Linked DNA regions of Homo sapiens: region 1 is linked to region 2. Evidence: promoter capture Hi-C in human tissues and cell types (Jung and others, 2019). All regions are on one chromosome and are shown on one strand. Each heading gives the region's core, a stretch centred on a gene start or on the middle of the fragment in contact. The rest is flanking DNA. Distances are from core to core; before and after follow the strand shown.

Evidence for each region. The method cuts DNA at HindIII sites, captures the fragments that hold promoters and counts their contacts. A contact is called where the count stands out against the background at its distance.
Region 1: a contact is called between a fragment that was not itself captured here and the fragment with the promoter of DYNC2LI1 in region 2, in 1 of the 25 tissues and cell types used here (H1 embryonic stem cells).

The regions. Positions count from the first base shown.
Region 1 is chr2:43,576,861-43,583,398 of GRCh38, forward strand. THADA (THADA armadillo repeat containing) reads right to left here. Exons shown (of 38, transcript NM_022065.5): 8 at 4,881-5,068; 9 at 1,653-1,747; 10 at 162-382. Among named protein-coding and RNA genes, the nearest start is that of THADA, 16 kb to the right of the region's middle. RefSeq lists a silencer at 5,646-5,865. The HindIII fragment of the contact is 5,407 bases long and covers 527-5,933 here.
Region 2 is chr2:43,772,737-43,779,176 of GRCh38, forward strand. DYNC2LI1 (dynein cytoplasmic 2 light intermediate chain 1) reads left to right here and starts at 1,303. Exons shown (of 13, transcript NM_016008.4): 1 at 1,303-1,410; 2 at 4,046-4,163. The coding sequence starts at 1,403. LOC105374571 (a long non-coding RNA gene) reads left to right here and starts at 1,417. Exons shown (of 2, transcript XR_940033.2): 1 at 1,417-1,810; 2 at 2,137-2,256. RefSeq lists an enhancer at 1,189-1,238. The HindIII fragment of the contact is 10,095 bases long and covers 1-5,927 here.

The DNA of each region.
Region 1 (6,538 bases), core at 1,980-4,479, 190 kb before region 2:
CCAAGGCTGGTTTTGAACTCCTGGCCTCAAGTGATCCTCTTGCCTCAGCCTACTGGGAGGGTAGCTGGGATTAGAGGCACAAGCCACTCCAGCTTTTGGACTGCATCTTCTAAATGTCTTACAAGTGAAACAAAATATGAGACGATAGCATCAAAACTCACTGTGAACTCAAGGTGAACAAAACATGTGCAGTATCCAAGAGCAGGGCCTCCCCACTCCGACCCATGCTTCCGTTCTGCCAGTCCAACATGGCAAGTGTCCCCTGACAGAGGAATAAGACAGCTGACTGAGAGATGTCACCACAACAGAGGCTCCTGCAGCTGCTCATAAACCACTCGGGGACACTGGTGCAGTCCACTGAACGAAGCAGCACACTGCTAATCTGGAAAAATATAGCAGAGCTAACACACATAAAGCTTTTAAAACTTTTCAGAGATATTTCAAAATACAAACCCAAACATCTCTTTCCCCTGAAAAATCCTAGGAAAAATGACTAAATCCAAAGATAAAATACCCACAAATGTCATGATTATTGTATTAGTATTAAAGGAAAAAAATTACATCAAGTACGAGAATGATTTTGCTGGTTGGAATGTACTGGCAGAGCACAACACATCGCCACCTGCAGGTGGATAAGCTTAACAACTGCTTTTTTTTTTTGGTATGTATTTTTTTTTTAAACAAATGCTTTTAGAGGTGATTTGAGAAATAAACATCTTCGACTTATCCAAAGATAATTACTTTGTGTGATCTCATAATATATTTTTCTAAGGTCAGGTAAAAAGATAAAATAAGTTTCCATACAATATAGCAAGCAAAAAAAGAAATCTACTAGTAAAAAATACAAGGATTGTGGCCTAAATTATCAAATTATACTTTCTGTAAGAAGCAAATTTACTGAACAATTGACTCTATCTAGCATGCTTCCTGTCTAAAGCACATGATTTGGGTTATTCTCAATAAAGAATACATTTATCAGAAAAGTTATTACTGTGTATATATCTATACATTGATATGCATAATTTTAACATTAAAAATATCTTTTAAGATACTAATGAGAGATGACACTGAACAAACAGCACTAAAAAGAAACTAAAAGAATGTACATCAAAAATGTTTATAGTGATTATCTTTGTGAGATGGACTTACAGGTGACTGTTATTGTCTTTTTGTTATTGTTGCTTTATCTGAATTTTTGGAATTGTCTCTTATTATAACAGAAAAAGGTCATCAGAAGGAACCAGACAATGCAAAAAAAAATTATTTTAATTCACTTCTTTAAAAATATTTTTAATTTTTTTTTTTTTTAAGAGACAAGGTCTCACTCTGTTGCCCAGACTGGTGCAATCTTATCTCACTGCAGCCTTAAACTCCTAGGCTCAAGCGATCCTCCTACCTCAACCTCTCAAAGAGCTGGGACTACAGCTGTGCACCACCATACCCAGCAAATTTTCTTTTTTTTTTTTTGTAGAGACAAGGTCTAGCTAAACTCCCCAGGCTAATCTCAAACTCCTGGCCTCAAGTGACCCTCCTGCCCTGGCCTCCCAAAGTGTTGGGATTATAAGTGTGAGCCACTGCACCAAGCCAAAATTATTTTTTAAACATACCCTAACTCTCAATAAAGTACAATTCTAAAAAGGAGATGCACTTACCAAATGAGGAATCTTTTCAGACGGGTGAAACATAGTCTTAATAAAAAGAATAATAGCTAATCCAGATGTGCTCTGTACAGTCTGTAACAGATCATCTATTTGGCAAAAAAGGAGAGAAGCTTGTGTTAAATAATGAATATTCTGGTAGAGTGGAAAGAGCAGATGCTGAGCAGCCAGATAGGCCTGGGTACAATTTCTAGTCTGACCACTTCCTGGGTGAATAGGTCTTACCTAAGTTATTTAACATCCCACAGACTCTCTTTTCTCTTGGGTAAAATGGGATAACTCTTAACTGAGGCAGTGTCAGGTTTAGATGAATAATGAACATAAACGCTTTTTAGAAGGAGTCTCACTCTGTTGACAGGCTGGAGTGTAGTAGCGTGACCTCAGCTCACTGCAACCTCTACTTCCTGGGTTCAGGCGATTCTCCTGCCTCAGCCTCCCAAGTAGCTGGGACTACAGGCGCGTGCCACCACACCCAGCTAATTTTTGTATCTTTAGTAGAGATGGGGTTTCACCACGTTGGCCATGATGGTCTCGATCTCTTGACCTTGTGATCCGCCTGCCTCGGCCTCCCAAAGTGTTGGGATTACAGGCATGAGCCACTGTGCCCGGCTGAATATAAAGGCTTTTAAGCCCAGCATATAGATACTCAATAAACGTGATTCCTTCCTCTCTCCTCTAACATACACTTTCTTCCTCGCCAACTATTGCTTCCCAAAACACCTAACAGCAACACCACCTGTCCCCTCCCCTCCACCAATGCCTCTGTATCCCAATCACCATATACACAGACTTTTTCAAAAAGAGATTTCAGGGCTTGTATAAAGAATGTAGGTAAGTGCTAATTACAAACTTTGCTAGCACTGACACTGTACCCATAGCAACCAAACAGTTTTGACTTGGTATCTTCTTTTTGTTTTATCTCTATTAGCCTCTAATACCATGGTGAGTTGTTCAACCTGGGGAAAGAAGTAACACTTCTTTATGACATCATAAACTACGTACTAAATATCCACTCTGCCCTTCATCACTGATAAGAAAACTGTGACTTTGATTGGGGAAGCCACATGCCCAGCCAAAAGCAGGATACTTGCTTCTTCAATCTTCTTTGCAACTAAAGGTAGGCATATAAGAGGGTTCAGGCCAGTTGGATTTAAGCCAGTCACTTGAGTATCCTGATCAAAAGTAAAGACGCAACTGGCCTTCCTTCTTCCTGCCTTGAATAAAGACACATCTGGAGCTACAGCAGTCATATGGCAACCACGAGGCAACAAACGTGGGTGAAAACCAACCTGCTGAAGATGGCACAGCAGAAAAGCAGAAAATGTGTGGGTCGTACACTGCCTATACCAGTTCTGGATGACCTGCCTCTGAACTTGTTATGTGGGAAAGGAGGTTTGGTTTTCAGTTACTTGCAGCTAAACACTTTACTGATTATGAAGCTTTAAAATGCTGGAAAAGAATAGTACTGATTAGGTGCCATCAACTTTTCGGAAAAAAAGCTACTTCTTTTTTTTTTTTTTTTTTTGAGACGGAGGCTTGCTCTGTTGCCAGGCTGGAGTGCAGTGGCATGATCTTGGCTCACTGCAACCTCTGTCTCCCGGGTTCAACTGATTCCCCTGCCTCAGCCTCCCGAGTAGCTGGAACTACAGGTGCACGCCACCACGCCCAGCTAATGTTTTTTTTTGTATTTTAGTTTTTTAGTATTTTAGACAGGATTTCATCATGTTGGCCAGAATGGTCTCAATCTCCTGACCTCGTGATCTGCCCGCCTTGGCCTCCCAAAGTGCTGGGATTACAGGCATGAGCCACCACACCCGGCCGAAGTTACCTCATATTAAAATCATGTATTCTCTACATTTCATTAGTTAGAGAATCTTTTTTTTAGACTAACACAGTCCTCTTTTAAAAAGTAAATAACCTCTGAAAAGTTTTCTGTAAGTTATGTCTTAATAAAAGTAACTTTAACTACTTTCCTTTCCTTTTAATACCTGAGAACCCAGGCAAAAAGAGAAATAGAAATACTAATTGGACAAAATATAGCTAAGACTTTCATTACCAGGGTTAAAAACACAAACAATGAGGCCAGGCGCGGTGGCTCACACCTGAGCCACTTTGGGAGGCCAAGGCGGGCAGATCACCTGAGGTCAGGAGTTCCAGACCAGCCTGGCCAACATGGTGAAAGCCCGTCTATATTAAAAATACAAAAAAAAAATTAGCCAGGCGTGGTGGTGCATGCCTGTAATCCCAGCTACTCGGGAGGCTGAGGCAAGAAAATCGCTTGAATCTGGGAGGCAGAGGTTGCAGTGAGCCAAGATCACGCCACTGCACTCCAGTGTGGGCGACAAAGAGAGACTCCATCTCAGACAAAAAAAAAAACCAAAAAACACAAACAATGAGATGCTATTGTCTTCCAATCAGCCTAGCAAAACCAGAGTCAGTTATTGTTTTTCACTAACAAGAGCTCTAAAGAGATCCCATTAGCATGTTTTTAATTAAGTTACATTCAAACATATATTACCATATAGAATGGGAGGTGAAGAGAGAAAGGATAATTCAACTTTTTATATAAATACTTGTGTTAGGTGTCACTTTTTCGTTAATCTTATTATAATAATAAACCACAGATTCCAAAAAAGTGACAGAAAACAAATTTACAGCTTAATAAATTATTAAAAAGTGATCACCCTTGAACCTATCTTCCAAGGCAAGAAATAGAACTCAGTCACCCAGGCTGGGCACAGTGGCTCACACCTGTAATCCCAGCACCTTGGGAGGCCACGGTAAGCAGGTTACTTGAGGCCAGGAGTTCCAGAACAGCCTGGCCAACATGGCAAAACCCTTTCTCTATTAAAAATACAAAAAATTAGTCAGGTGTGGTGGTACCCTCCTATAATCCCAGCTACTCAGAAGCGGAGGCACGAGAATCGCTTGAACCTGGGATGTGAAACCCAACATGCAGAGGTTGCAGTGAATAAACATCACGCCACTACACTCCAGCCTGGGCAGCACAGTGAGATTCGGTCTCAAAAAAAAAAAAAAAGAAAAGAAAAAAAAAAAAAACCATGTAGTCCAGGGCCTCCCTCCATTTTTGAGAGGCTGAGTAAGGACACATTCCACATCTCAGTTAAGTATCACATTTCACACTATTAGTAGGAAAAGCTGATTGACACTCAATTTTAACTGTCAATTATATATCATTTGTATATAATTTGTTACACTTACCATCGCTTAAAACCTTGGTAAAAATACTCAGCAATCCACACATATTTTGCCATATGGGAGAATCGGAAGTCTTCCAAAGATTTCCCTGGAAATCTTGTACTTTCTGTACTAACATCATTGAAACTCTAATGCCTACCAGTAAGTCATTCATCAACTGTGTTTGAATAATATGATTTCCAGCACATTTTCTATAAAGAAGAAAAGACATTATTACAAAAGGAAATTCAAACAAAAGTGTGAACATTTCTAATTATCAGCAAAATAAATACATTCCTCAAAGGCCCAAAATCAATTTTAAATTATGATAATTTATTCCTCTCTCTTCCATTCCTATAAACATTCCAATTATGTAGACATTAATTGCAAACTTTCAACACTGTTAACTTAATCTACATGTCCCTCTTTCTCAGCCAATAACTAACTTCACTTCTTTTAGGGCAAAGATAAGAAATCAAGAATGAATGACAGAACTCAGTCTGGGCGAAGTGGCTCACACTTGTAATCCCAGCACTTTGGTAGGCCGAGACAGGTAGATCATTTGAGGTCTGGAGTTTGGGACCAGCTTGGCCAACATGGCGAAACCATGTCTCTAGTAAAAATACAAAAATTAGCCAGGTGTGGTGGCACATGCCCGTAATCCCAGCTACTCAGGGGGCTGAGGCAGGAGAATCGCTTGAACCCCAGAGGTGGAGGCTGCAGTGAGCCGAGATGGCACTACTGCACTCCAGCCTGGGTGAGAGAGCAAGACACCATCTTAAAAAAAAAAAAAAATGACATAACTTACAAACTTGAACACTCTCTCAACATTGATATATTTTCCCTCCCTGGCTTTTTTTTTTTTTTTTGAGACAGAGTCTCCCCCTCTGTCACCCAGGCTGGAGTGCAGTGGTGCAATCTGGGCTCACTGCAACCTCCACCTCCCGGGTTCAAGCGATTCTCCTGCCTCATCCTCCCAAGTAGCTGGGATTACAAGCAAGCCATCATGCCCAGCTGATTTTTATATTTTTAGTAGAGACAGGGGTTTCACCATGTTGGCCAGGCTGGTCTCAAACTCCTGACCTCAAGTGATCCACCTGCCTCGCCCTCCCAAAGTGCTGAGATTACAGGCGTGAACAACCATGCCCAGCCTCTCCCTGACTTCTAAAATGCCAGGCTCTCGCAGATTTTCCCCTACTTCACCAGCACTCCTTCTCGGATACCTTCACTAATTCATCCTCTTCTCCCTGATCTTTTTATGTTAGGAATGTCCAGGACTCAGTCTTTATTCCTCTTCTTTTCTCCATCTAATTCTCTCCTTTGCTGATCTCTTTTAGCTCATCAGCTTTAAATTATAATCTACATGCTGATAATTCCCAAATTTTTATCTCTAACCCAGACCTCTCTGTCTAATTCCTTTCTGGTATATCTAACTTCCTGATATTTTTACTTGGATGTCTAACAGACATCTCTAAATGAGTGAACTTATCTTCAACTCCAAATCTGCTGTACCTGCTGCATCTTTATCCTACAAAAACATTGTAATCATCCTTGCCACCTCTCCTCTCCATCTCATCTATAAGAAAATCCTGTTGGTTCTACCTTCAAAATACATCTAGAATCAGACCAACTCCACTGCTACATCTTGGCCTGAGCCACTCTCATCTCTCCCTTGGGTTATT
Region 2 (6,440 bases), core at 53-2,552:
ATACCTAGGTGTTGGGAGGATTTTGTTCCCAATGACTTTATTTGAAATAAACACCCTTTTATCAACCATCAGCCTTGTTTCCAGGAATGTGTTCCTTGTGTTTCTTTGTTCGAAGTTGCTGACCAGCAGCTTATCACACAATAATAACAAGCATTAAGCAGTTATAATGTGTCAGACACCCACGTAAGTTATGTTTTACCTACATTTATCTCATTTAAGATTCACAATCTTTCCCGCTTTACAGGATCAGAAATTCAGTGATTTACCCGATGTGGCAATGTGACAACTTAGCCAGCGTGGCCAAGTCAGAACTTGAACCTAGGTCCATCTCACGCCAAAGCCCATGTACTTGAACATCGCACCATAGAAATCAAGCCGAATAGTAGAGGACTGGAGGGAGGGTATCTCCTTCAAATATTCAGGGCATCTTAGGCTAGAAAGCCTGAGTCTACTCAGCATTCAATACAGACCAAATACTATCAGTGCCATGGTTTCACCATCTCCTTCAGGCATAATTGGTCACTTGCCCTCATGCAATTTTTGTACCTCTATACAATAGTTTAGATCACTCACTTCCTTAGGTGCTTATAATTAGCTGAGTGTGTGTCTTTCTTAAGGGCAGCGATCTTTTCTTACTCATCTCTTTATTCCTTATTCTGTGTAGCATAGGGCCTTGCATATTCAATGATTGTTATTTATTTCAATGCTCGTTATTTATTTGGACACTCCTGCAGATCTATAAAGAGACCACAAAGTTCCAAAAGAAAATAATCTACATTCACAAAGTAAATGAAGTATGTAGGAGATGCACTTGCTTCATTAATTTATTAATAAATACACAATGTGCTATTGAATAAAACTTGAAACAACTAAACATCTAGAAAGTTGGAAAATATTAAAATTACGTGCCTTATTTTAAATTTTAAAGTCCGAATATTCCTTGCTTCTAGTAAATTAGCAGAAAACAGCTCAAGAGATTGTTACACCCTCTATTCCTAAATCATGGCGATTGGGAAGAAAAAAGTGAAAGATGAGAGAGAGAGAGAGCAGAGACCCTTGGCATATAGTTGACACCCAGTAAAAAAATTTTAAAATAAAAGAAAATTGCTTTTAGATCCCAGGTTTGTAACCCCTTATCATCTCGTTCTAGGAGGTAACAAGGAGTTACTAACTTGGGATCTAAAAGCAATCCTAAGGCTTGAGGCCGAGAATGAGATGTAAAAGGACTCCTGAAAACTACATTTCCCATGATGCCCGTCTCCCCACGCAACCGCGGCCGCGACGTCGCTCCCATGGCAACCCAGAAGGCCTCACTCCCAGACTCCTTGCGGAGCTCGCCGCCTGATTCTAGGCTGGTCACTACTCCGAGCCTGTGACGTTTGCGGCAGCCAGGCCGTCGACGATGCCCAGGTATTCCCTGAACCCGGCTTGCGTGGGAAAGGCTACTGAGAGTATTCCTGGAGAGAGGAAGCCCAGGCGGGACCAGCTGTTGGAAGATTGTGGGGGTGGCTACTTGCCACCAGGATATGCAGGGTCGGGGACCTAGGAATCAGCCTTGAGCATAAAGATTCTGCCGCAAACAGGAAAGAAAAGAAAGTTCCCTAGGTAGAAAAGTGAGAGATTTGGAAAGATCAGCAACTCCACCCATTCAATGATTGAATAAAAGTTTCTTGCAGGCCAGAGACTACTTCCGGAGCAGGACATTCGGCGATGAGCTAGACCACAAAGCCTCCTCTCCCCAGGGGCCTCCCCTCCTGGTGCGGGGGTTCGCAGTAATAAGCGAGGGGAAACTTGGAAGGCACTGTGGAAAGTATAACATCACTTTTAAGGGGGGAAACGGGAGAGGGTTTGTAAACTATATTCTAGCTGTTCAATTCTATGATATTCATTTTAATTACCTGTTCACAAGATATTCCTAAACCTTTTCTCAACAATTTATGCTTAAGCACGTCGGGGAGAGGGGTCAGGGAGTGCATCACAGAGCAGGATAAATCTTTTTCTCTCCTTGGGATAGTGTGGAGAATTGTCAGCTTTCCATCAAGGGATAATTGGTTAGTTATAAAGCTATGGTTATACTTCCCGATTTCCGCAGGTGTCGTGGCTGACTGCAGCACCTCCGTCTTTCCTCTCTGCTAGGTATTTGGAAAGCAGATCCTCATATTTTGAAAGAATGTTGTGTAAATGAAGAGCAAACAGCCCGAAACTGAGTTCTGAAGGCTCACCTGTGAAATAAATGCATGAATTTTAGTGCAAACATTTAAGGACTCCTGTTTTGACCCTTTTTCTTATTCCTGGTTCTTGAATAGTATAATTACAAGCCCTCAATAATTTTTGTAATTGTATAGGCCATGCCCTAAACTACATATATATTTTAACAATTATGACAATCCTATAAAGCTGATACTCTTTTTTATTGGCTTTTTAGAGATAGAGAAACAATTGAGCCTGGGGAATAGCACAGAGGATTGCATATATTAGGTGCTCAATAAATATTTGTTTAATTAATAAAGGAATGAAGGATTTAAAGAGGTTAGGTAGTTTTCCCAAGTTCACATACATAGGAAGTAGCAGAATCAGGCTAGGACCTATCAGGTCTTGCCCATGGTTAGTTTTTAGTTTAATATTCCATTTTCACTTAGGCTTTAATTAATATATATATGATTTTATCGTGTAAAGTTATATATCTGTGTAAAGAAATCAATGAAAGGATTGTTTTCAAAATGTTTGTGGTTTTAGGGTTTTTTTTTCTTTCTTTCTTTATGGTTTTTTTTTGGCGGGGGGAGACAAGGTCTTGCTGTGTCACCCAGGCTGGAGTGCAGTGATGTCAACATGCTTACTGCAGCCTCGACCTCCAGGGCTCAGGCAATCCTCCTGCCTCAGCCTCCCTAGTAGCTGGGACCACGAGTGCATGTCACCACACCCAGCTAATTTCTTTTCTTTTTCTTTTTTTATTTTCTTTTTTTTTTTTTTAGACAGAGTCTCGCTCTGTTGCCCAGGCTGGAGTGCAGTGGCACGATCTTGGCTCAATACAACATCCACCTCCTGAGTTCAGGTGATTCTCATGCCTCAGCCTCCTGAGTAGCTGGAGTTACAGACACCCGCCACCACACCTGGCCAATTTTTTTTTTTTTTTTTTTTTTTTTTTTTTAGTAGAGATGGGGTTTTACCATGTTGGCCAGGCTGGTCTTGAACTCCTGACCTCAAGTGATCCACCCACCTTGGCCTCCTAAAGTGCTGGGATTACAGGTGTGAACCACCACTCCCAGCCTCAGCCAATTTTTTTTGTTTGTTTTCTTTTCTTCTTCTTCTTTTTTTATACTTTAAGTTCTAGGATACATGTGCACAACGTGCAGGTTTGTTACATATGTATACATGTGCCATGTTGGTTTGCTGCACCCATTAATTCATCATTTACATTAGGTATTTCTCCTAATGCTATCCCTCCCCCATGCTAATTTATTAGTAGTAGTAGTAGTAGTAGCAGTAGTAGAGATGGGATCTTCCTGTATTGCCTAGGCTGATCTCAAGTGATCCTCCTGCCTCAGCCTCCCATATACTTTTATATTAAACAAAATTTTTTTTTACCTAAAAACATAATCTAAAACACAAAAAAGAAATGTTTCAGGGAGGAAAGATTATTTGATACACTGGTTTTGTACTTTTCCCATCTTCCTAGGTGACTTAAATGTTTGTGGTTTTCAAGTTGTACATTCCCAAAGTCATTGTACCTCCATATGTGTCTGAGAAGCTGACATACACAGCTATGAACCGTAGGGGAAGACCCAAATGTGACAGCCTCAAATCCTGGCAATAAAGGCTCTGCTTATCAATTTCAGTATTCTTCAGAGAACTAGTTCAAAGCAACAAAAGAAAAATAAAATCATAGAATGACTAATCCTCAGATGTTTTACCAGATTATTGTTCCTCAGAAAATAATGTTCATTTGTTTCATAAATTATACTGAAATAAAATTTCTCTGAGCTTGAAATAAATATTTGAAAGAATTCTTTTTCCCTCAATTTTGTTTTTTCTGCCTCTCATGTAGTGAAACTCTCTGGGAAATTGCAAAAGCTGAAGTGGAAAAAAGGGGAATTAATGGAAGTGAAGGTGATGGAGCTGAAATTGCAGAAAAATTTGTTTTCTTCATTGGCAGTAAAAATGGGGTAATGCTTTCTTTTTTTCAATTATTGTGATGATTTAACAACCATTGGTAAAATATCTGTTAATACTTTGATTAAAATGTAGATACTTCAACACTTTAACCAGATGACCAATCTGGTTTAGCATGAATTAAAAAGTGCTTATTATTAATCTAGGAAAAACTATAATAGTAAACAAAATTTTAGAAAAATATATTTAAACTATTTTTTATTTCATGATTTGAAAATATTCAGGTCTTCTACCACAATTGAGTGTAAAAGCTAGGATTCATGTAAATATCTAAGTCAGTCTCTAAATCAGTAAGTCAGTATCTTAACAATTTTATATTTTAGATTGTTACTTTACTTTTAGAAATCTCATTAAAGGAATAATTGAACTGTGTCAATGATATTTGTTACAGGGTTATTAATTATTTTGAAATATCTGGGGAAAATATGGCAGCATTTCCAGTGGACCACTGATTGGTAGGAAGGGACCCCTCCCCACTTGTTGTAAGTCTCTGTTTTACTTGGCCAAGCATACAGAAAGGCGTGGAAGTGGCCACACAGTGTAGGAACATATGCATCATATCTTCATGCAACTTTGCCTGGCCCACAAAGTTCCTGCCAGGAAGGCAAAATGACTGGTGACACAAAAAGGTCAAGGCTTGCCAGATGCAAGATGCTGAAATTCATGTAGTGCCATAGCTCATTTCTGTGTGGGGTTCAAATTCCTGTTCACTTTCTGTGCTCCATGCTTCCACTTAAGCGCATTGACAAATACGAAGCTTTCAGAAACTACACTCTGCATCAGCAGGGCTACGTGTTCACTGGGCAACGTCAGCGCCCAGGCAGCCTGAGCACCCGTCTTGTCTCCAGATGAGTCCCAGAAGGCCCTCTCTGCACAACCGGACACCCTCCATTGGGGGTTTTATATACAACATTAAGATTACATATATTGGGAGAAATACCTGTACAACCATGAAAAAGGTTTTAGTGATGTAAGAATATAATCTGAATTAAAAAAGCAGGACACAAGTGTCATACATGACATGATCCCAATTATACAAATACGTAAATAAAAAATTCTGATAAAAATTAGAAATATGGATAGTAAAATTCTAATCACTTAATGTTTTTATTTTGTTTTTAATTTTTTTATTTTCCAGAGTTTTCATATTGGCCCACTTTTTAAAATTCAAACTTAATTCTTTAAAATAAAATTATCGTAGAGATCATTTATATTTTAAAATTTTAACCCAACTATATAAGTATATATTTTATAAGCATGTTATTTCTTTTTTTGAGACAGGGTCTCGCTCTGGTTGCCCAGGCTAGAGTGCAGTGGTGCGATCTCAGCACCCTGCAGCCTTGACTTCCCTGGCTCGGGTGATTTTACCTCAAGTAGCTGGGATTACAGGCATGCGCCACCACACCCGGCTAATTTTTTGTATTTTTAATAGAGATGGGGTTTCACTGCGTTGCCCAGGCTGACCTCAAACTCCTGGACTCAAGCAATCCACCCATCTCAGCCTCCTAGAATGCTGGGATTACAGGCATGAGTCACCGCCCCTGGCTACGCATTATTTCACGAGTTTACTATTATGATGCACGTGATTTTCATATTAGGCATAGTACTTAACAGTTTCCTACATTGTATCTTACTGCCATGTAGGTACATACATGGATTTAAATAAATGAGTAAATAACTAGTACTAGTCTTATGGTACAAATACATTTCTATTACAGAAAACATTCTGTACACAGAATATTAGATAGAATGGCTTATACTAATGGTACTGATTACTGACTCCATCATACAAATGCTTACATACAAAATACCCCTACCAGTATCCTCTTAGCGCTCTCTGTAACAGTTATTCTTGACTCCCTTGTAGTCATGATACCCTGTTTTGTCTTGTTTTGTTTTGTTTTTTTGTTACTTGTGAAACCACCCCTTTTTCTTGATGGCAATATGTGGCATATACAAACTGTTTTTTGTTTTTAGTAATAAAAGTAATTTTGTTTCTGATGATTTGGGAACTCCCTTGATATCTAAAACTTTTGAGGGTATTATTCTTTAAAAAGTCTGTGATTCTGCTGAGTGCAGTAGCTCATGCTTGTAATCCCAGGACTTTGGGAGGCTGAGGCAGATGGATTGCTTGAGCCCAGGAGTTCGAGACCAACCTAGGCAACGTGGCAAAACCCAGTCTCCCCCCAAAAAAATAAAACAATTAGCCGGGTGTGGTGGCACTCACCTGTATGTAGTCCCAGCTACGTGGAAGACTGAGGTGAGAGGAT